Regions from separate parts of the Homo sapiens genome. Here region 2 is linked to region 1. Evidence: promoter capture Hi-C in 16 types of primary human blood cells and fetal thymus (Javierre and others, 2016). All regions are on one chromosome and are shown on one strand. Each heading gives the region's core, a stretch centred on a gene start or on the middle of the fragment in contact. The rest is flanking DNA. Distances are from core to core; before and after follow the strand shown. Region 1 holds the start of FKBP10 (FKBP prolyl isomerase 10). Region 2 overlaps JUP (junction plakoglobin).

Evidence for each region. Contacts are between HindIII fragments. The CHiCAGO score rates a contact against its expected background, and 5 or more counts as called.
Region 2: a contact is called between a fragment that was not itself captured here and the fragment with the promoter of FKBP10 in region 1, in 1 of 17 cell types (endothelial precursors). The highest score is 6.5, in endothelial precursors.

The regions. Positions count from the first base shown.
Region 1 is chr17:41,809,389-41,816,591 of GRCh38, forward strand. FKBP10 (FKBP prolyl isomerase 10) reads left to right here and starts at 3,616. Exons shown (of 10, transcript NM_021939.4): 1 at 3,616-3,891. The coding sequence starts at 3,647. It overlaps P3H4 (prolyl 3-hydroxylase family member 4 (inactive)), which reads right to left and starts at 2,561. Exons shown (of 8, transcript NM_006455.3): 1 at 2,066-2,561; 2 at 1,744-1,896; 3 at 1,475-1,646; 4 at 318-446. The coding sequence starts at 2,527. RefSeq lists a silencer at 2,191-2,680 and enhancers at 2,821-2,930, 5,417-5,918, 5,919-6,418. The HindIII fragment of the contact is 9,756 bases long and covers 1,251-7,203 here.
Region 2 is chr17:41,752,919-41,760,121 of GRCh38, forward strand. It overlaps JUP (junction plakoglobin), which reads right to left. Exons shown (of 14, transcript NM_002230.4): 9 at 5,797-5,952; 10 at 5,481-5,600; 11 at 4,716-4,866; 12 at 4,497-4,618; 13 at 3,257-3,296; 14 at 1,691-2,977. The coding sequence ends at 2,826. Among named protein-coding and RNA genes, the nearest start is that of HAP1, 22 kb to the left of the region's middle. The HindIII fragment of the contact is 3,009 bases long and covers 2,290-5,298 here.

The DNA of each region.
Region 1 (7,203 bases), core at 2,366-4,865:
CTGGGCAAGAGTGAAACTCCGTTTCAAAAATAAAAATAAACTGTCAAGTGCTCTGCAGTTGTTGGTTGTCTAGTCATTTGCCCAAAAGACCCTCTTCTTCTCCCTGAGGCTGCTGTCTGTTCTCACTCAGAAGCCTCTCACCTGCCCCAGACTCCCAGGGTGCCTTCCCCATATTCCCACCACCCCTAGACTTTCCTCCTATCACCCAGGGTCCTCAATACTGAAGGAAAGCTCCCCACAACTCTGGGAGGCTCCCATACAGTCCTCTCCCTTATCACCTCGTCCCCTGCCCAAGCCAGCCCACCCAGGGGGCTCACACTTATAGTAGGCAAACTGCAGGTAGTGGTACATGGTGGCCACGAACTTGTCCACGAAGTAGCCACCCACATTGGGGGTCAAATTGGCCTCACAGTCCACCTTGCACTGCAGGGACTCTGCAAAGAGATCTGAGGGTGGGAGGCAGCAGTGAGAGGCTGGCATTGCAATGAACATCTCCGTCCCCCCAGTGGAGAAGACTCTAAATCCAATCTCTGCCTACTAAGCCAAGCTGCTTGTCCAGAAAATGTGTTGCTGTTGCAATCACAGGAGAGAATGTCTGTAAAGTGCTTGGCATACTATATGACAAGTGATGGTGAGGAAGATGACTGTGGGCTGGGCTGACTCACCACCCCTGCCACTCAACCACCACCCCAAGCCAGAGGGAGCCAGGGCATTCTGGGAGAGCAGCAGGTGAGGTCCAGAAATGGGGCAGAAGTCCAAACAGAGAAGCTAAAGGACAGTCTTTTTTTTTTTTTTTTTTTTTTGAGACAGAGTCTCGCCCTGTCGACCAGGCTGGAGTGCAGTGGCGCGATCTGGGCTCAATGCAACCTCCGCCTCCCAGGTTCAAGCGATTCTCCTGCCTCAGCCTCCCGAGTAGCTGGGATTACAGGTGCCCGCCACCACGACCAGCTAATTTTTGTACTTTCAGTAGAGACGGGGTTTCACCATGTTGGTCAGGCTGGTCTTGAACTCCTGACCTCGTGATCTGCCTGCCTCGGCCTCCCAGAGTGCTGAGATTACAGGTGTGAGCCACCACACCTGGCCAAGTACAGTCCTTTCTGCCCCTGCTCGAGGGACCCCAGGGTTAGAGATCCCAAGACTAGGTGTAATTTCTGGTTATCAACTGCTTTCTGCACACATCTGCTGGGTTACTTCTCACCGCTGCACCTTTGCATCTGCACTGCCCTCTGCCTGGAAGGCCTATGAACCCAAGCTTCCCAAACCCTTTAGGGATGTCACTGCCTCTACTCACTGATCCAGCCCCTTGGACACTCCCAGCTGGGGCCCCTGCACCCAGCGTCTTTCTCAACAGACAAGGCCTTCCTCCCGGCTGGCTCCTCCGCATTCGCAGTGCTCCACGTGCATGAAGGGGACATCTGCCTTACCGGGCCCTGTGGGTGAGAGGACCGCCCACCGTGGTCTGGGTGGCAGATACCTGCTATGGCCGGGTAGAAGTCCTTGAAGTCCACCTGCTCATGGGCCCCTTCACAGCCGGCCAGGCACCGGGCAAAGACTGCCAGGTACTCTGACAAGGCCCGCTCCATGTCCTCCGTGCTGCTGCGGAAATCCCCGCTGTTGTAGAGCTTCACAGCCCGGAGGAACACGGCCTGGAAGGGGCGTGGCAGGGGGAGTCAGGGCGCCCCCAACATCTCCCCTCCTCTACTAGCCCTCCTCTACAAGCCTCCTCCTGACCCTCCACCCCACCTCGTAGGGCTGGGCCTCTAGGTCCGTGAGGGACTCGTCGGCGACGTCCAGCATCCCCTGATAGTAGTTGAGATACTTGGCGGTCAGCTCGTGCTTCGGGTTCCTCTGGAGGAAGGTGTAGGCCGCCGCCACCGCCTTCTCCAGCCGGTTAGCCTGGTCGGGGGGTAGGGGGTGGGGGAGCGGGTCAGCAAGACCGGAGCTCGCGGCCCCGAGCGCACGGCGGGCTTCGTGCCTTGGGTGAAGATAACGCTCCTTCGACCGATCTGTGGGGAGCCACGACGCCCAGCCCGAGACAGGTCCCCGGGTGGGGGCGGGCTCCCACCTTGAACAGCGCGTAGTGCAGGTACTGGTAGGGCAGGCGGCTCTGGAAGTCACGCAGCAGCTGCCGCGGCGGGTAGGGCACCTGGAAGGCGGGCAGCGTCCGCTTGCAGCGCCGCAGGCAGGCGGCTCGCTCCAGGACGCGGCCGAAGAGCCGCAGCTCGCAGGCCCACTCGTCTGCGCGGCCGCCGTCGGGATCGGGCTTGGCCGCGGGCGCGGGGCCGCTGCAGTTGGCGTGGCAGAAGGCCTCGCTGTCGCGCAGGAGCCGGTGCAGCCGCAGCGCCGCCTCCAGGTAGCGCGCGCTCTCGCGCCAGCTCTCTCCCTCGTACTGCTCCAGAGCGTGCCCGTACGCCGCGGCCAGCGGCATCAGGTCCTCGGGCGGGAAGCCCCGGAAGCTGTACTTCTCGTACTGCGCCCCGGCGCTGCCCAGCAGCAACCACAGCAGCCCCCACGCCACCCGAGCCATGCCCGCCGCGCCGCCGGCTCTCCGGAGCTGAGCTGGCTGCCCCGCGGACGGAAGGGGACAGGGCCGGGCCCCGGGCGGGCGGCGCGCCCGCTGGGTCTTAGCGCCGGGCACGAGGCGGCAAGGTGGGGCGGGGCCTGGGTCACGACGTCTCCCCTCTTTTCCCAGAGGGTCCGATAGTGTCGTTAAGTCCTCTCCGTCGGCCCGGGCTCCTGCCTTGGGGGTGTCCCCTAGGTAGAGAATGCGTCGGGGAGCGCTTCCCGCCAGAGATGGGAAGCCCAGGAAGCCCCTCCCCATGCAAACAGTGCCCCCGCCTGAGATCAGGACACTGAGTGAGGGCCGCCTCCTCTGCGCTGCCCATACGAGAAGGAAGCCCTGGAGCCGGGCCTTCCGTCGCTGCGCCCTCCTGCACCCTCCGAGTGTCTCCCCCGCCCACGTCGGAGGCACACACCTGCTGTCACCTGCACACCTTGCGCTGCCACCACCCCCCACTCCATCTCCGTGCCCGTCACATCCCAAGTCACAAAGTCCTTCTTTCAGTCCAGCTTTTGCGGGACCAAGCTGCTCTTCCCTGGAGATGCCTTCCCTTGGAGTACAGCTGGGGTCACGGATGAGCACGGAGATGCCTCTCACACTCCGCGGCTTCACCACCCACCTGGAGGGGACTAGAATTCGAAGTGCCCGCGAAAGAAGCAAGGTTCATCTCCGCCCGGCTTTAGGACCCGGGGGCTCCGGAAAAAGTCATTGAACTTTTTTTTTTTTTTTTCCTTTGGTGTCCACTCAGAGTTCTCATCTTTCCCGAGCCTCTCTCCCTGGCCAGGCCCCAGGTCTCGCAGCCAGGGATGGAGATGGGGGGAGGGGGAACCTAGAGTTCTTTGTAGTGCCTCCCTCAGACTCTAACACACTCAGCCTGGCCCCCTCCTCCTATTGCAACCCCCTCCCCCGCTCCTCCCGGCCAGGCCAGCTCAGTCTTCCCAGCCCCCATTCCACGTGGACCAGCCAGGGCGGGGGTAGGGAAAGAGGACAGGAAGAGGGGGAGCCAGTTCTGGGAGGCGGGGGGAAGGAGGTTGGTGGCGACTCCCTCGCTCGCCCTCACTGCCGGCGGTCCCAACTCCAGGCACCATGTTCCCCGCGGGCCCCCCCAGCCACAGCCTCCTCCGGCTCCCCCTGCTGCAGTTGCTGCTACTGGTGGTGCAGGCCGTGGGGAGGGGGCTGGGCCGCGCCAGCCCGGCCGGGGGCCCCCTGGAAGATGTGGTCATCGAGAGGTACCACATCCCCAGGGCCTGTCCCCGGGAAGTGCAGATGGGGGATTTTGTGCGCTACCACTACAACGGCACTTTTGAAGATGGCAAGAAGTTTGATTCAAGGTAACCCCGGTTGGGCGCCCCCGGATTCACCACTCCGTCCCCTGAACCCGGGGTCCTGTTTCCTTGTTGCCTCTTTTAAGCTCTGCATCCCAATACTCTAACCCTAGACAGCACCCCTGGGGCCTCCCAGACACCCATCTCCCCAAAGATACCCTCCTGCCCCCACTTCCAAACCCTCACTTCTCAAAGGATCCCATTTCTTTCTCACAAGCTCTCCACATCCCGGAAAGGACTCGATAATCAAGGTGAACTGCCTTGTGTAGTTACCAGGGCTGTATGTAATGACCTGATGGAGAGGGGTGTTCTGATCTACAGTGTTGGGGGGAAGGGGGTGGTCCCTGCTGCTTAAGAACCCTGGGATGGTCTATCAGCCTGGACCCCGTACCTTTCCACCCACCCTGACTCCCCTTCTGGTTCCACTGTTTTCAGTGCCTTTGTGGTCAGAGAAGAGGGAATAGAACTTTTTTTTGGAGGGGGTGGGAGTTTTCAGCGGCTGGTGGGCAGGGAAAAAGGCTGGTGGGTATTATAAGAAGACAGCCGGCTGGACCTGGGGGTAGCGCGTGGCTCCCTGCGGAGGCCCTGTCTACGTGTCACACAGTCGGACATGCCACCCTGGGCTCCTTGGAGGAATTTCATTCCTCCCTCTCTGGTTCTCCTGGAACCCTCATCTCTCTCCATTTTAGGTACACCAGGCCAGAGGCACAGGCCGCCCATTTTTGCCAGCCTTGGGGTTTGTAAGGTGGCCTCCTGGTCTGACCCAGGCCTTTGGTCTGCCCCAGCAAGTCCACTTTTGTTAGCGGGGACAGGGCAGGGCTGTATGCCAGCCTCAGGGGTAAATCTAGGGTCCCAGTTACACACAGACCCCACAGCACACTGAAAGAAGTCAGTGTTTCTTAGACCCTCCTCTGAAACACACAACTCAGCCCACAGGAAATTAGTGGCCATGACTTTAGAGGCAGGCATATATTGGGGTAAGCCTACAAACTCCAAGAGTCCCAAGACCCTGGTTCAAATCCAGGCTATGACCATGGACAGAGAATTTTGTCTCTTTAGGCATCACTTTCCTTATCTGAAAAGTGGAGACAAAAACAGGACCTACTTGCTAAGGCTGATGTTAGGACTCCAAGGACATGGATGAATGAACGTAGGCTTCTCACAGGGCCTGGCAGTCCTCCAGCCAGTTCAGCACACATTAACATTGACCCTGAGGAAAACCATATGACCTGATGCTGTGGAACTTGTAGAAACTTAATGCAGAGCTTAAGCCTTCATAACAACACTGAGAAGGAAACAGTCCAGACTTAAAACCTGTCTGCTTGGTGGGCAAATTCAGATATAGGGTAGTAGCCAGAAGTGCAGCCCTGAGCCCTTGACTGCTAGGAGTGAGGCAGGGGTTGGGATTTAGGGGATGTCATCCCTGATGGGGACTCTGGGAGCCCAGCTCATGAGTGTTGAGCTTGGAAAACTTTTTGTTTTTTAGCTGGAGGCTCACTCTGTCGCCCAGGCTGGAGTGCAGTGGTGCCATCTCAGCTCACTGCAACCTCCTGGGTTCAAGCAATTCTCCTGCTTCAGCCTCCCAAGTAGCTGTGATTACAGGCGCATGCCACCACGCCCAGCTAATTTTTGTTTGTTTGTTTGTTTTTGTTTTTTGAGACACAGTCTCACACTGTTGCCTGGGCTGGAGTGCAATGGAGCAATCTCAACTCACTGCAACCTCCGCCTCTGCCTCCCAGGTTCACGTGATTCTCCTGCCTCAGCCTCCCGAGTAGCTGGGATTACAGGTGCACACCACCACACCCGGCTAATTTTTTTGTATTTTTAGTAGAGAGGGGTTTCACTATGTTGGCCAGACTGGTCTTGAAAAAGGCGGGTGGGTATTATAAGAAGACAGCCAGCTGGACCTGGGGGTAGGGCATGGCTCCCTGCGGAGGCCCTGTCTGTCTACGTGTCACACAGTCAGACATGCCACCCCAGCCTCGTGATCCGCCCACCTCGGCCTCCCAAAGTGCTGGGATTACAGGCGTAAGCCACGGCGCCCAGCCTTAATTTTTCATATTTTAGTAGAGATGGCGTTTCACCATGTTGCTCAGGCTGGTCACAAACTTCTGAGCTCAGGCAATCCACCCTCCTCAGCCTCCCAAAGTGCTAGAATTACAGGCGTGAGCCCCCGCGCCCACACAACTTAGAAAACTTTTTTTTTTTTTGAGACAGAGTCTTGCTCTGTCCCCCAGGCTGGAGTGCAGTAGCGCGATCTCTGCTCACTGCAAGCTCCGCCTCCTGGGTTCACACCATTCTCCTGCCTCAGCCTCCCGATTAGCTGGGACTACAGGCGCCTCCACAATTTTTTTTGTATTTTTAGTAGAGACGGGGTTTCACCATGTTAGCCAGGGTGGTCTCCATCTCCTGACCTCATGATCTGCCCGCCTCGGCCTCCCAAAGTGCTGGGATTACAGGCGTGAGCCACTGCGCTCGGCCAGAAAACTTTCTTAACCCATGGCCCCTTCAATTAAAAAAAAAAAAATCTCCCATCCTCACTTTACTTCTGAAAACTTAAAATAAATTAAAAGTGTATATAATTGGCTGGGCACAGTGGCTCACTCCTGTAATCCCAGCACTTTGGGAGGCCCAGGCAGGCAGATCACTTGAGGCCAAGAGTGACCAGCCTGGGCAACATGGCGAAAGCCCTCTCTACTAAAAATACAAAAATTAGCCAGATATGGTGGTGCATGCCTGTGATCCCAGCTGCTACTTCGGAGGCTGAGGCAGGAGAATCGCTTAAACCCGGGAGGTGGAGGTTGCAGTGAGCTGATTGCACCACTGCACTCCAGCCTGGGTGACAGAGCCGAGACTCCATCTCCAAAAATACATATGTATAAGTAAAAATAAATACATTAATTAAAAGTGTATAACTAAAAACAAACAAAAGCCATGGCACTTTTAGAATAGGCTTTTTTTTTTTTTTTTTTTTTTGAGAGGGAGTCTCACTCTGTCGCCAGGCTGGAGTCCAGTGGCACGATTTCGGCTCATTGCAACCTCCGCCTCCCGGGTTCACGCCATTCTCCTGCCTCAGCCTCCTGAGTAACTGGGACTACAGGCGCCCGCCACCACACCTGGCTAATGTTTTGTATTTTTAGTAAAGACGGGGTTTCACTGTGTTAGCCAGGATTGTAGAATAGGCCTTTTCAAAATGTGAAACCAGCTCCCACCCCACCTCTGCTCTCCCGTCTTTTCTTGGAGAGCCAATAGTATAATGGCAAATTTTAGAACTCAGCTGACTACATATTAGCTGTGTGACCTTGGGCAAGGCACTGA
Region 2 (7,203 bases), core at 2,544-5,043, 56 kb before region 1:
ATCACCCAATTCGAGTGTTTCCTGCCAGGGTCCTGAACACAGAGCACATATAAAGGGCATTGTTGGCTGGGGACGGTGGCTCACGCCTGTAATCCCAGTACTTTGAGAGGCTGAGGTGGGCAGAGAACCTGAGGTCAGGAGTTCGAGACCAGCCTGGCCAACATGGGTAAACCCCATCTCTACTAAAAACACAAAAATTAGCCGGCCAGGCACAATGGCTCACACCTATAATAGCACTTCGGGAGGCCGAGGTGGGTGGGTCACGAGGTCAGGAGATCGAGACCATCCTGGCTAACACGGTGAAACCCTGTAGTCCCAGCTACTCGGGAGGCTGAGGCAGGAGAATGGCGTGAACCTGGGAGGCGGAGGTTGCAGTGAGCCGAGATCGTGCCACTGCACTCCAGAGTGGGCGACAGAGCAAGACTCTGTCTAAAAAATAAATAAATAAATAAATAAATAATTAGTCAGGTGTGGTGATGCACGCCTGTAGTCCCAACTATTGGGGAGCCTGAGGCAGGAGAATCACTTGAACCCAAGAGGTGGAGGTTGTAGTGGGCCGCGATCGTGCCATTGTACTCCAGCCTGGGAGATAAGAGTGAAACTACTCTCAAAAAAAAAAAAAAAAAAAAAAAAAAAAACGCTGCGGGGTGGGCGTTGTTAAAAGATTTTTAGGTCTTCCAGAGCTCTGAAAACTCTGTCCCCTCCCTGCTGCCCCGGCTCTAGTCGGCAGAGCTCAGCTCTGTGTCTCATCACCTAGTGTCTGGACCTTACAGCCAGCCCTTAATTGGAAGCACCTCCCTGTCTCCAGCCCCAGCCCCACATCCCACCAATCCTCTGTGAATGAAGCCATGGCCTCCCTCCACTGCCCTGAGCTCCAGGTGGAGTAGAAAGAAGGCACTGGGCCCTGGGCAGGCACATAGGCACCACAGGTTCTCAGGTTTGCCGGGTGCATTGTAACCAGCACCTCCTCAGAAAGGAGAATTTGGGGTTGTGGGTGGGGGAACTGTCACATGAGCTAAAGGACAGACCAACGTGATGGGTGAAATGACAGTTGTGCACGGGGCATTGTGGAGCACAGCAGGAGGGGCACCCGCTCATCCCTGCTGGGGGCGGAGGTCGTGGAGCAGGTGTTTCTGGAGTCAGGTCTGAGCCGATCCCGGCAGGTGAACAGTGGAGGCACCCAGACAGTGGGAACAGCATGGACAAAGAACAGGAGGAGGCTGCTGGCTGTCACAGGCACGGCTAAGGGCAGAGTAGGTGGTGGGGGGAAGGAAGAGGGGAGGTGGGCAGGAGCTGGGGTGGGCCCACAGCTGACCAACAAGGGGCCTGGACCCAAAGCCATAAGCCTCGGGGAGCATTACGCACGGGGACATCTGCCATATTCACTTTAAGGCTGGACGGGAGGAGAGCCAGCCAGGAGCTTGCCTGTTTGAGAGAGAAACAAGGCCTGGCCTCCCGAAGTGAGGGACTCATCCCCATTCACCTCCTCCCCCGTCCTCGCCCTACAAGCGCATATTGGGTTAAATCCACTCCGGCTCCCCCAACACTCCTGGCTCCCCAGCTTGCCTCTTCTAGTCCTTCCCACATGCAAGGCAGCCCTGAGGACCCGCAGGACCCAGCAAAGAGGGCGCCAGGCCGCTAGGGAAGCCCCTCAACTTTCCCACCCCACTCCCCTAAACAGCCTCCAACGCATCTGTGTTATTTTTATTTTCTTTGCTTTGGTCTATACAAAAAAACCAATAACCAAAAACATAAAGCGATAATAATAAAACACTCTGCTTGGACCTCCCCCAGCCCCCCACACCATGTGCGGGAAATGGGGGGGTCTGAAACAGGAAGGGGAAGAGAAAGCCCCTCACCACACACCAGAGGGGTCAGCCAAGAGCACTTCTCGGGGTCAGCTAGGGCAGCTGTGTGGGTGGGACAGGGGTGTGAGGAAGCTGTCCCCAGAGCTCCCTGGGGAGTGAGGGGTGGGCAAAGCCAACTAAGCACCCTGGAGAGAGAAGCTGGCATCTTCTGGAGCAGGTGACTCACTCCATATCTCCTCCCCATCTCCCCTGGACGGTCCCTGAACTTTTCAAGAGAAGTTTTGGATTTTGGGGGTTTGGGTCTCGAACCTGGGCCCTGGAGGCCCTGGGGGCTTAGGGCAGTTGGTCGGTGGAGTTCAGTGAGAAAATCAGACCCAGAGAAGGAACCAAAGCCCTTCCGGGCCCAGGCAGCTGGAGACAGGGAGGCTGGAGGTTTGGAGGGGCGTTGCTGGGGGAAAACAGAATGGGTACTTGAGTCTGAAGCTTTAGTGGCCAGGGCCACAGGGGCGGGGAGGGGGTGTCAGGCCCTGGACCCATGCCCAGGACAGAAAAGCAGGAGCAGAACACTATCCCAAGAAAGACCCTACGGAGGACCTCTGGAGGCGCAGGGTGCAGCAGGAAGTTACACCCCGGCTTCCCCAGCTCAGGCACTTTTCTGTCTTGCCCCATCGCCTGCACGGAGAGCCTCTCAGATGAGGAACCGCACCTGTTAGGGGAGCGGGGACAGACAGGGGTCAGGGGCTCGGTGGACCTGCATCCCCAGAAGCTCAAGCCACTCCGTGTCACCTGCCCACCACCCCCAGAAGGGGCCAGCAGGAATAGGCCTCCCCATCCCCACCAAAGACACAAGAAGAAGGCAGGCCAGGGCACACCGTGCTTGGGGAAGCTCAGCAGCAAAGGATCCCCCCAAAAAAGGAGCGCAGGTTTCAGCGGGGAGATGGGAGGGCCTCCAACAGAAGGAGGTTCTAGAGAGGAGGAAAAGCCTGCAAAGAGGGGGCCGTACTGGGGCCAGGCCGCCTAGGCCAGCATGTGGTCTGCAGTGGGGTACGGGGGCCTGAGGCCGTCGCTGTAGGTGTCGATGGGGTAGTCTCCATCCATGTCCATGTGCATCTCCAGCGGGTCAAGGGGCACATCGCTGGAGTACATGGGGCGGTAGGTGGCATCCATGTCTGGGGACAAAAAGTGGGGCTCGGTCCTAGGGTCTGCAAGCTACCCTGCAGGGAGCAGTCTGCACAGCCTTCAGCTGCCTCCTCTACCCATGCCCACCCCTGGTGGGCCTGACCCCTCCCCAGACCCCACACCAGGGCATCTAGACTGGGGTACATGTGGATGCCACACAGCAGTTGCCACTGGTCCTCTGGCCCCGGAGACATAATATTGTCCCCTCACACACACCCACACAGCCGCCCAGGATCTCCAGGGTCCTGAAGAGCCCGGCACACACTTACCATCTCCATAGGGCTCATTGATGGGAATCATGCTCTGGGCCTGAAAAAGGAGAGAGAAACATGGAGGGGAGGTTTGAAAATGCAGGCTCCGAGCTGGATCTCAGCTGGTGGGCAGGGAGAGATGCTTCTAAAAGAGGGGGCCAGGCTGGGTGCCATGGCTCACGCCTGTAATCCCAGCACTCTGGGAGACAGCAGGCGGATCACTTGAGGTCAGGAGTTCCAGACCAGCCTGGCCAACATGGTGAAACCCTGTCTCTACTAAAAATACAAAAAAAATTAGCTGGGCGTGGTGGTGCAGGCCTGTAATCCCAGCTACTCGGGAGGCTGAGGCAGGAGAATTGCTTGAATGGGGAGGCAGAGGATGCAGTGAGCCGAGATTACACCATTGCACTCCAGCCTGGGCGACAGGAGTGAGACTCTGTCTCGAAAAAAATAAAAAATAGGCTGGGCGCAGTGGCTCACGCCTGTAATCCCAGCACTTTGGGAGGCCAAGGCGGGCGGATCACAAGGTCAGGAGACAATCGAGATCATCCTGGCCAACATGGCGAAACCGCGTCTCTACTAAAAATAGAAAAATTAGCCGGGTGTGGTAGCGTGCACCTGTAGTCCCAGTTACTCAGAAGGCTGAGGCAGGAGAATTGCTTGAAACCGGGAGGCGGAGGTTGCAGTGAGCCAAGATCACACCACTGCACTCCAGCCTGGCGACAGAGCAAGACTCCATCTCAAAAAATATAAAAATAAATAAATAAATAAAAGAGGGGGCTGGAGAAAAGCAAAGAGGCCTTGGAGGAATAGAGGATGATGAAATGGGGTCACCCAGTGCCCTGATATACTCATGTCCTCGGTACTCCCCAGGGAGGAGGGTTCCCCACTCATGAAGCAGGGACTCCTGCCGGACTAGAGCAGCTCAGGGGAGGAGGCAGAGGACTCAAGAATGGGTACAGGGCACTGCCCCACCCTGGAAAAGACCGCCCATAGCCTATCCAGCACCTCCACGCAAATTACAAAAAGGCACCCCCACCTCAAACACTGTATACTCATTTGGGCAAAATAAAAATTGGCATTTTGTGGATATATGATTCAACCCACTACTTCCATCTGCTAGGAATTGTTATAAATGATCCAATTACAAAATAAAAATCTATGAAGTTGACAGTAGTAGGAGACCCCCAAAAGTGTTGCCCATGGGCAGTGCCCAACTTGCACAACCAACTACTGTGGTCCAACCTAGGATACTCACAGCCTCCCAGGCAGCCGGGTCATGCTTGAAGAGGGAGTTGGTGAGCTCCACGGACACGCGCTTCCGGTAGTCTGGGTTCTTGTCCTCGGAGATGCGGAACAGGACGGCAGCAGCGTAGGTGGCTGAGCAGAGAGGAAAGGAAAAGCCAGGTTAAACGTCGGCCAGCCTCCATCGTGGCTGGGGGAGTGGGACCCAGCCTCCTGCCCTCCCCCAGCTCACCAGTGCCCTCGTTGCGGGAGTGCAGCAACTCCATGAGTGGGGCCGAGGCCCCCTCTGCATCAATGGCGTCGGCCGCCTCCTTGTCCTGGGCCAGCTCACACAGCACCCCGGCAGCCACGCGCTGGATGTTCTCCACCGACGAGTACAGGAGCTGGGGAGAGGGGACGTGGGAAGCAGGGGAGAGGTGGAAAGGGGTGAGGCAGGCCGGACAACACACCCCACAGCACTGCCCACCTCCACCCTGTAGCAATTCCATAGTGGAAAATGGGCCGTCACTGGGGAGTAAGTGTTACTGCTTTAAACTGGGCTGAGCATTGTTCATGAGCTACCTTGAAATTACCTGTGACTCTGCCTCATCTAACCATTGGAATCTAGTGTTAATGAGCTCACTGATGTGAAAGATGTTAGACTCTTCTTGTCTGTTATGGTACTTGCACATATTCTCCCAGTTTGCTGATTTTTTAAAAATGCTTTTTTAGGTTCTTTCTGAAATACAGATGGTTTTCATGTTTATATGGTTGAATCTCAAGTTTTTTTGTTTTTTGTTTTTTTTTTCCATTTGTGATCTCTTTCCTTGCTTTGAAGCTTAGAAAGCCATGCCCATGCAGGGGGTTGCTAAGTAGTCAATCTGGAGTGGCAACTTTCCTCCAAACTCCTCCAAAGACCTCTTGATACCTGGTCCAGGCCTCCCAAATCTGGGACTCCTAACCTTGCCCTTTAAGCAGTGGTGGGGGGACCTCTCCTGCCCACCTGCCCCAGACTCACCTGCACAAACAGGGGAATGGTGTTGAGCCGGAAGATCTCCATGCGGTTCATGGGGTCCCGGGCGAGGATGTGCAGTGCTCCGGTGCAGCCCTCCACAATCTCCTCCATCCTCACACCATCCTGTGTGAGAGGAGGCAGGGGGCATGGGACAGGTGCCTTGGACATGGCCACAACTCCTCCCCATGACAGCCGAATGAACTTCACAGGTTCTTGGAATTGGCATCAGTTGCAACTGACCTCCCCATTCACACACACACCCACAGAGGACACCCTGACCCCCCAGGAAGGCTGTCAGAGGCACCACCAGCTCACATACCGTGTAGGGCTGCTGTGTGCCTGCAGCTACGTGGCGCTGGGCATCCTGGTGGGCCTTCACCAGCAGTTGGACGAGGCGGGGGATGACCGCTGCCTCCTGCAGCGGGGCATGGTTGGCTGGGCACAGGGCCAGATTCCTGATCAAGCCGATGGTTGCCTGGCAAAAAAAGGGGCAGTGATCAGGGGCACTTCTTGGACATCTGAAGGATCCCAGCTTCCCAGCTTCAAGTATCCCTTCCCTCCTTCACCTCTTCTGTCCCCGAGGCCAGACACAGACATACTGGAAAATATCCAGAGAAGGAGACCATCCCAGCCATGTCACTTAATCCACAGGATCTGGGAGTGCTCATGGCTAATTCTTTTTTTTTTTTTTTTTTGAGACAGAGTTTCGCTCTTGTCACCCAGGCTGGAGTGCAGTGGTGCAATCTCACCTCACTGCAACCTCCACCTCCTGGGTTCAAGCGATTCTCCTGCCTCAGCCTCCTGAGTAGCTGCGATTACAGGTGCCTGCCACCATGCCCAGCTAATTTTTTGTATTTTTAGTAGAGACGGGGTTTCGCCATGTTGGGCAGGCTGGCCTCGAACCCCTGACCTCAGGTGATCCGCCTGCTTCTGCCTTCTAAAGTGCTGGGATTACAGGTGTGGGCTACCACGTCCGGCTGCTCATGGCTAATTCTAATAGCCCTTGCTAAAATGACACCCCATTCCAGAACATCCTGCCAGCCCCATGCCTGGCCCCTCACCCTGTCCCCTCTTTCTTAACCACCCCCCACAGACACCATGACCTTGCTTGCTTTTCTGATAGTCCTCCAAGCCTGATTCTCAGGAATTCTGTGCTCTAGGTGCCCCCGAAGCCTCCTGCTTGGGTGGTGCTCACATTGTCATTAATCCCCAGCAGGGCAGCTCTGGAAAGAGGTGTCCTGAGATCTCCTCCCCAGGGTCTTTGACTCAGAGGAGCCACTCTGGCCTCCCAGAGCCTCTCAAGGTGTCATCTATTTCATCCTCAAAACAAGACGCCAGGAGGACAGGGATGAAAATCATGTGAGATGGGGACGTGAGCACAGGGCAAATGACTTGCCAAAGTCACTTGCCACTTAGCTGCTGGGTTAGGATGCAAAGTCCCACCTCAGGTTTGCAGCAGGGACCAAGCATCAAGGAGGGGTCACAATGACATTTTTTTTTCTAAACATGAATTTTCTTTTTTTAATTCAATGTATAGGCCGGGCGCAGTGGCTCACGCCTGTAATCCTAGCACTTTGGGAGGCCAAGGCAGGCAGATCACTTTAGGTCAGGAGTTCGAGACCAGCCTGGCCAACATGGTGAAACCACGTCTCTACTAAAAATACAGAAATTAGCCGGGAATTGCTTGAACCTGGGAGGCGGAGGTTGCAGTGAGCTGAGATCATGC